Linked DNA regions of Homo sapiens: region 2 is linked to region 1. The links are contacts of gene promoters, found by promoter capture Hi-C in human tissues and cell types (Jung and others, 2019). All regions are on one chromosome and are shown on one strand. The core of a region is centred on a gene start or on the middle of the fragment in contact, and the rest is flanking DNA. Distances in the headings are between cores, read along the strand shown.

Region 1 (4,160 bases), core at 973-3,472:
AAAGAAATCAGAATAAATTATGAATAAGTTGATGGTAGTATATCAACAATGGTTTATAAACTGTAAAACCCATACAAAACTAGTATAAGATGTTAATAATAGGGAAAACGGGTCAGGGTATATGGAACTTGTCTACCTTTTTTGAATTTTTTAAATATAAATCTATAAATCTTCTAAAATAAAGTGTATTAGTTTTTTAAATAACTAATTTAGGCCGGGCTTGGTGGCTCACGCCTGTAATCCCAGCACTTTGGGAGGCCAAGGCAGGTGGATCACGAGGTCAGAAGTTCAAGACCAGCCTGACCAACTTAGTGAAATCCCGTCTCTACTAAAAATACAAAACTTAGCCAGGCATGGTGGCACGTGCCTGTAGTCCCAGCTACTCGGGAGGCTGAGGCAGGAGAATTGGTTGAACCCGGGAGTTGGAGGTTGCAGTGAGCTGAGATTGCGCCACTGCACTCCAGCATGGGTATTGGAGTGAGACTTTGTCTCAAAAATAAAATAAAATAAAGTAATTTATAAAATTAAATGAATATTGACTGGAAACACAGATGAAACAAATTTTCTAGGAAAATGTACTCTACCAATTTTGACAGTAGTAGAGACAGAAAATCTAAACAGAATGTAAGATGAAACATATAAGATGATTTAACAGAGAAATTGCACCAATCTTTCAGGCAGGAGAATCACCTGAGGTCAGGAGTTTGAGACCAGCCTGTCCAACATGGTGAAACCGTGTCTGTACTAAAAATACAAAAATTAGCCAAGCACTGTGGTGCAAGCCTGTAGCCCCAGCTACTTGGGAGGCTGAGGCTGGAGAGTCGCTTGAACCGGGGAGGCAGAGGCTACAGTGAGCTGAAACCGTGTCACTGCACTCCAGCCTGGGTGACAGAGCAAGACTCTGTCTCAAAAACAAACACACACACACACACACACACAATGTAATTTACATCTATTTTTTAAAGTTATTGGTTTTTTTAAAAGCAACAGTTGGGCCGGGTGCAGTGGCTCACCCCTGTAATCCCAGCACTTTGGGGGCCGGGGCGTGGGGGGGGGGTGTGGATCACGAGGTCAGGAGATCGAGACCATCCTGGCTAACACGGTGAAACCCCATCTCTACTAAAAATACAAAAAATTAGGCGGGCGTGGTGGTGGGTGCCTGTGGTCCCAGCTACTCAGGAGGCTGAGGCAGGAGAATGGCGTGAACCCAGGAGGCGGAGCTTGCAGTGAGCCTGGGTGACAGAGCGAGACTCCGTCTCAAGAAAAAAAAGCAGTTGGTGGTGGCCTAACATCCCTCCGGGGACAGGACCCATCGCCGAACGATGGGTATGGTGGCATGTGCCTGTAGCGTTTTTAACACACAGGGAAGCGACCGCCAGACTCTCACGGAGATGCCCCGTTCGTTCTGCCTTGGGCCAGGTAAATACGGATTCCCAGGTTGGCCTTAACCCTCCAACGCGCTTGGCGTTGTCCCTCGGAAACTCTCTAGAGATGAGCACTCTAGAGATGACTCAGTGGACTGGGAAAGGCAGACCCACCTCAATTTGGGTGGGCACAATCTAATCAGCTGCCAGCACAGTCAGAATAAAAGCAGGCAGAAGAACGTGAAAACACTAGACGGGCTTAACCTCCCAGCCTACATCTTTCTCCCGTGCTGGAGATCAGAGATGATGATGGAAAGGGAGAAGATTTCTATTATGTTCTGTGGGCCGTCAGCATGAAATTGCACATGCTACCCAGGCAGGGCTTTGCATTTCACATTTTAACTTGCATCGCCTTCACACAGAATTCCAGGCCTTTTAAATTAAATTGTTAAAATTAGTTTTTATTTACTTATTTATTTTAGGACAGAGTCTACACTGAGTATAGCACTGGGTCTACACTACGCCCAGGCTGGAGTGCAGTGGCCATGATAGCTCAGTGTAGACTCGAACTCCTGGGCTGAAGCGATCCTCCAGCCTCAGCCTCTCTAGTCGCTGGGACTACAGGTGCCTGCCACCACGGCCGGCTTAAAATTGATTTTAATAGCAGGAAATTTCCTGGATCTAATCCTCAACTGACGTTGCTTTGCTCCGGCAGGATCCCAGTTTGCAGAGGGCTGAGCTGCTCCAGCCTCACTGCCAGCAAAACCCGGAAAACAGAGGCACTGGAGGCGTGGCCTAGGGAAGCCCCGCCCCGTCCCGTCCCGGTCCGCTCTCTATGCTGCGCGCGCGCAGTTTTTTGCAGACCCGGAAGCGGATCGCGTGGGTAGAAGGTCACACCGCAGCGCGTCAGTTTCCCTTTGTTTAGATTCAATCTGGGCTTCCCAGCTCCCCCGCGCTTCTGTACCCGGGATCTGAGAGTCAACACAGACCTTGAAATCCCCGCACCGCTCCCTCCACCCCGTGTAAATTCAGGCGTCTCCGTGAGAGTCCGGCGCTCGCTTCCCTGTGTGTTAAAATCGCTCGGCGACGGGTCCTGTCCCCGCTCGTTCTGCCTTGGGCCAGGTAAACACGGATTTTCGAGACTCCTTTCCGCTTAAAACTCTTTACTGACCCAACGTCCTGCCCCGCGCTTTTAAAAGTCCTTACCGCAAGGTGGATTCCCGCCCGGGGAGCCTCCCAACCTCGCCCCCGGCCCCTGAAGCGCAGCGCCGCAGCCCCAGTCCCGGCGGGGGAGGCCGCGTCCTGTACTGGGTCCTGGGACCCTTGAGACCCCACACTTCTAATAATTCAGCCCCACCCTTTTCCTCCTTGATCCGGGCCTTCCTACTCCCCAGGCCTCCCCTTCGCAGCCATCGCTACTCCCGACCCCCGGGTGTGGGGACGTGACTTCTTCTGTCTTAGGACATTCAGGATTCTTCGTCCCAAATTCCATCCCACTAAAAATGTGCTCTTGGCGGAGGTGGGCACCTTATTGTACTCCCCTGCCTATGGATGTGTGGGGAAAGATGGTGAAAGAGTGGCAGGAAATAGAAAAATTTTGAAAAAGAAGCATGAGGGAGATCCATAAGCAGACGGCAGAGAGTAGCTGAGAGATTTACAGAGACAGTGAATGAAGCCGAGAATGTAGCAGGGGGAGAAAAGTAACTGGAGAAATGTAGAGAAAAGCTGGGTCTCCAGAGAGATGAAGATGAAGCAAGATTGGGAGAGGGGCAGAAAGGGGGAGGCTCCTCAGACAGAGTAGGGGAGAGGAGGAGGGATTTGGAGCCAGGGCAGACAGAGCAGCATGGTGCTGGGACAGCAAGAGGGGGCAGCTGATGACAAGGAGAGCAGAGGGAGAACCACAGCATGGGGAGGCCTGGGATCCGGGGGGGCCAGAGAGTGGGGACAAGAGAGTGTAGCAGGGAAGAGGAAATTTAACAGGGAGAACAGAGAGGAAGCAGAGATAGGGAGGGCAAGAAACAGGCAGAATGGAAATTGGGGACAATCAAAAATTGGACACAAAGAGGAACAAGGGGTAAAACAAATTGCCAGAATGGAGCAGAACAAATGGAAGAGAAGGAATAGAGGGAAGAGGGGGAGAAACAGCAGGAGAGGAGAGGGGCAGAAAAATAAGCCAATTCTTATGGGAAAAATGAAGTGAAAAAAAGCAGGAGAAAGAAGGTAAGAATGAGAGAGCTGTACAGAATGAGGGAGGGAAACATACTAATGACAAAAGAGGGGGAACCTGAGTGCAGATGAGCGATGAGTTGATGGACTATTATGATCAAATTGTGATATACTGATTTCTCTAATTGTAATCTAATAAGCACAAAATTTATTTCAAAAGTACAGATGAAGATGAGACTTGCAAAGTTCCTGCCTATAAGGGAAGTGCATTTTATAATTCTTGACATCACAAGTTAGCTTCCATTCACAATCCCTGTTCAGCCAGAGGGCAGTGACTTGCCTCATTCGGGTGTGGGTGAGTGGGTAAGACAGGAGGAAAAACCAAAGCGTTTTTCCTACGCTTACAATCAACACAATAGTGAACACCCAACACAGAATGCCACATCTCTGGTCACCAAAATGTGTTGGGGATTACTTCCCACCCACAAGCAGTTCATCAGACACCACCTGGGTGTTGTGTAATTTAACTCAATTTCACACTAACACTATCTATGTGGAGTTAGCCTCAGATTCTACAGGTTGAGAGCTCAGTTCCACAGGCATGCTCCCACTTCAGGTGCCACTTGCAAG
Region 2 (4,462 bases), core at 862-3,361, 260 kb after region 1:
CCAAATAATTTGTAGGCTCAAAACCCATATTTCTATTAAGTATGGGAAGAATTTCCTCTATTCTTCATTATTCACACAAATACAAGAAGTACACATGAGGGAAAAACCTTTCCAATGTAATGAGTGTGGCAAAGCCTTTAATCATAGCTCATGTTTAAGGAGACATCACGTAACCCATTCAGGAGAGAAACAGTATAAATGTGATGTATGTGGCAAAGTCTTTCATCAGAAGCAATACCTTGCATGGCACCATAGTGTTCATACTGGAGAAAAACCTTACAAGTGTAATGAGTGTTCCAAGACCTTCAATCAGAAGTCATCCCTTCAGTGTCATCATAGACTTCATACTGTACAGAAACATTACAAATGTGAAGAATGCAACAAAGTTTAGAGTTGAGGATCACAACTTGAAACACACAGGAGAATTCATACTGGAGAAAAACCATACAAACGTAAGGTTTGTGACAAGGCTTTCTGGGATAATTCATGCCTTTCATGCCGTAAGAGTTCATACTGGAGAGAAATGTTACACATGTAACGAATGTGGCAAGGCTTTTAGTAGAAAAGCAAACCTTGCACATCATGGACTTCATACTGGAGGGAAATCTTACAAATGTAAGGGTTGTGACAAGGTTTTCCACCATGATTTATGCCTTGCACAACATCAGAGAGTTCATACTGGAGAGAACCTTACACATTTCACGAGTATGGAAAGACCTTTGCTCAAAATTCAGCCCTTGTAATGCATAAGGCAATTCATACTGGAAAGAAACCTTACACATGTAATGAATGTGGCAAGGTTTTTAGTAGAAAAGCACACCTTGCATGTCATCATAGACTTCATACTGTCTAAGGTTTCTAATCAACAATCAAACCTTGCACAACATCAGAGAGTTTATACTGGAGAGAAACCTTACAAGTGTAATGAGTGGGGCAAAGCCTTAAGTGGGAAGTCGTCACTTTTTTATCATCAAGCAATCCATGGTGTAGGGAAACTTTGCAAATGTAATGATTGTCACAAAGTCTTCAGTAATGCTACAACCATTGCAAATCACTGGAGAATCCATAATGAAGACAGATCTTACAAGTGTAATAAATGTGGTAAAATTTTCAGACATCGATCATATCTTGCAGTTTATCAGCGAACTCATACTGGAGAGAAACCTTACAAATATCATGACTGTGGCAAGGTCTTCAGTCAAGCTTCATCCTATGCAAAACATAGGAGAATTCATACAGGAGAGAAACCTCACAAGTGTGATGATTGTGGCAAAGTCTTGACTTCACGTTCACACCTCATTAGACATCAGAGAATCCATACTGGACAGAAATCTTACAAATGTCTTAAGTGTGGCAAGGTCTTCAGTCTGTGGGCACTCCATGCAGAACATCAGAAAATTCATTTTTGAGATAACTGTTCCAAATACAGTGACTATAGAAGATCATAAAGCTTTAATTGACATTAGAGCCAAATAGGCATTGACTTGAGATTGAGTTGACTTAACCTTGAGTTTAAGAATTAATTTACATTAAAGTGTTTATGTTAAGAAGATTGGGCCAGGTGGGGTGGCTCATGCCTGTAATCCCAGCACTTTGGGAGCCCAAGGCTGATAGATCACAGCCACACCTGGCTATGAGAGTGTGTAGGTGGCCGTTGGGGTGGGACCTGATTAGAAGGGGCAGGGCCTTGAACAGAATCTGGGCGGGGCAAGAATGAGGAGGCTGCCTGGAGGCCGGGCCAGAGGGTGATCGTCATCTTGAGGGCAAGGTCTGGAAGTGGTGTTTTGAAGGGCAGGGTCTCGAGGGGGCGGGTCCTGGCTTTCTCCTCAGCTGGACCCCAGGTGTCGTCTGCTGTCATCCTCTTGCCCTGCAGGACTAGATTCTCCGGGTACTAATTGGTGGATAGTTTCTGATGTGCCGTGATATTACCCCTAATATCACAGGGATGCCTCCTGTCCATTTTAGAGACTTGCTCTGTCGCCCAGGCTGGAGGGCAGTGGCGCGATCTCGGCTCATTGCAAGCTCCGCCTCCCGGGTTCATGCCATTCTCCTGCCTCAGCCTCCCGAGTAGCTGGGACTACAGGCGCCCGCCACCATGCCTGGCTAATTTTTTGTATTTTCAGTAGAGACGGGGTTTCACTGTGTTAGCCAGGATGGTCTCGATCTCCTGACCTCGTGATCCGCCCGCCTCGGCCTCCCAAAGTGCTGGGATTACAGGCGCGAGCCACCGCGCCCGGCCCCTAAGTTAATATTTCAAACAATCGAAGGTAAAACAACATATTGTGTTGGGCCACCTGTACTGAACGCTGAATCGTTTTTCCTCTTAAGTTGAAAATGGTTTTAATGCAAAGCGCCTTTTTTGAGCAGGTAGAGTCACGCATCCGGCAGGCGGGGCGAGCTCCCCTCTGTCTGGGGCAGGGTGGGGGAGAGGGGCAGGGACCTCGGTAAAGGGGTGGAGTGGCGCGCTGGTTGCCGCGGGCACTGGCAATTAGAAGGGATTATTAAACTAAGCAAGGTCCTGGGTTGTTTGAGTGGATAATGGAAACTGAAAGGTGACGTGCAAAACTGCCTATTACTCCCAGGAGTGGAGGATAATTTCATATTTCATGGAAATAAACTCAGGGCCCGGAGCGGTGGCTCACACCTGTAATCCCAGCACTTTGAGAGGCCAAGGAGGGAGGATCGCTTAAGCCCAGGAATTCGAAATCAGCCTAGGCAACATAGTAAGACCTCATCTCTACTAAAAATAAAAAAAAACAGCCAGGTGTGTTAGTCCACACCTGTGGTCCCAGCTGCTTGGGGTGCTGAGGTGGGAGGATCACTTGAGCCAGAAAGTTGGAGGCTGCAGTGAGCTCTGATCTTGCCACCACACTCCAGCCTGGGTGAAAAAGCTAGACCCTGTCTCAAACAAGCAAATAAATGAGAGGTATAAGTCCTCCTTTAAAAGTAAAGGAAGAGATTTTTCTTTCCTTTTGTCTCTTAGAACATTCAATTAGAAAATTTGTAAATTCATTTTCTCTGTCTTCTGAGGTTTTTTTTTTTAGACAGAGTTTTTCTCTTGTTACCCAGGCTTGAGTGCAAGCCACGATCTCGCCTCACCACAACCTCCGTCTCCCGAGTTCAAGCGATTCTCCTGCCTCAGCTTCCCGAGTAGCTGGGATTACAGGTATGAACCACTATGCCCGGCTAACTTTGTTTTTTTTTTTTAGAAATTAAACCTTTTTTCAGCTTAATGACCCAGGGGTGTATTTTTGAAGGACTTGGGAGCTCTCTTTGAAAGGCAAACAACAAGGGAAACAGTACCTTTATCTCAGTAGGAAATTAAATAATTCAAACATCAAATAACTTCAATTTAAGGCTATGGACTTTGAGATAATTCTGAGCCTTGAGAGGAATGTGGTCAGGCAACCTGAGTCCAGTGGAATGCAGGTGCAACTTCTAAGAGTTTTCCTGTAAGTAATTAAGAAGACTAAGTAGCCCCAGAGATAAGACCTCCTCGGATCATTGTCCCTTCTTATGTAGTGATAAAGTAACCTTCCTTGAAGTGTATCTATCCGTAATCAATCAAGTTGCTGCAGCCTATGCACTGGCCCAGAATAAAAAACGTGGTGATTCTGCTAAAGCTTCTCTGTCTTTCCCTGTGTGTGAAATCTTAACGTCTCTACTTGGGAACGCTGATCCCATTCATTTAGAGTTGATGTTTCCACGTGGCTATTTCCAAGCTTTGCCTTCAAATAAATTCTGTACTTAATCATATATTCTAAATTTTATTATTTACTGCTGACATCAGTTTCTGTCGGATTGTAGGAGCCTCACCAGAGAGGGCCCCTGTCGCCATGTTGTAAAACTCACACTTGCCAAAAGTTGTGGGTTAGGGTTTCTCCCCCTCCCTCAGGATGACGCTAGTTAGCTGACACAGATGGTCACCTCCATTACCAAGTAGAGTCAGGATGAACTATGTGTGACTGTTCAACTATGTGTCCTCTTCCCTGAGGACTGATTAGTGTTTATCTTGAAAACATGTCCTTAATGGGTTGTATAGAACACTGAAGCATCTGATTTCAAACTCTTAGCTCTTTTCCTCTATTTCCCATCACATTCTGGTCTAAGGCTTATTTATTAATAAAATGATTTTTATTTCTTTATTATCGTGGAGATGATTTTTCATTTGGGGGAAGATCATTTTGTTTTCAAATATATTGTCTCAACATTTAAATAGTGAAGTAAAGAGTATTTCTTGTGCCAGGCATGGTGGCTCACGCCTGTAATCACAGCACTCTGGGAGGCCAAGGCAGGCAGATCACTTCAAGTCAGGAGTTTGAGACCAGCCTGGCCAACATGGTGAAACCCCATCTCTACCAATTATACAAAAATTAGCCGGACATGGTGGCGCGCTTGTAATGCCAGCTATTCCGGAGGGTGAGGCAGGAGAATCACTTCAACACAGGGTGTACAGGCTGCA

The links. Contacts are between HindIII fragments. The study calls those that stand out against the background at their distance.
Region 2: a fragment that was not itself captured here is called in contact with the fragment with the promoter of ZNF610 in region 1 in 2 of the 25 tissues and cell types used here (H1 embryonic stem cells and small bowel).

What each region holds. Positions count from the first base shown.
Region 1 is chr19:52,334,021-52,338,180 of GRCh38, forward strand. ZNF610 (zinc finger protein 610) reads left to right here and starts at 2,223. Exons shown (of 6, transcript NM_001161425.2): 1 at 2,223-2,486. RefSeq lists an enhancer at 4,007-4,160. The HindIII fragment of the contact is 24,712 bases long and covers 1-4,160 here.
Region 2 is chr19:52,596,005-52,600,466 of GRCh38, forward strand. It overlaps a transcript of ZNF701 not described here and the pseudogene ZNF137P. Among named protein-coding and RNA genes, the nearest start is that of ZNF701, 28 kb to the left of the region's middle. The HindIII fragment of the contact is 3,122 bases long and covers 551-3,672 here.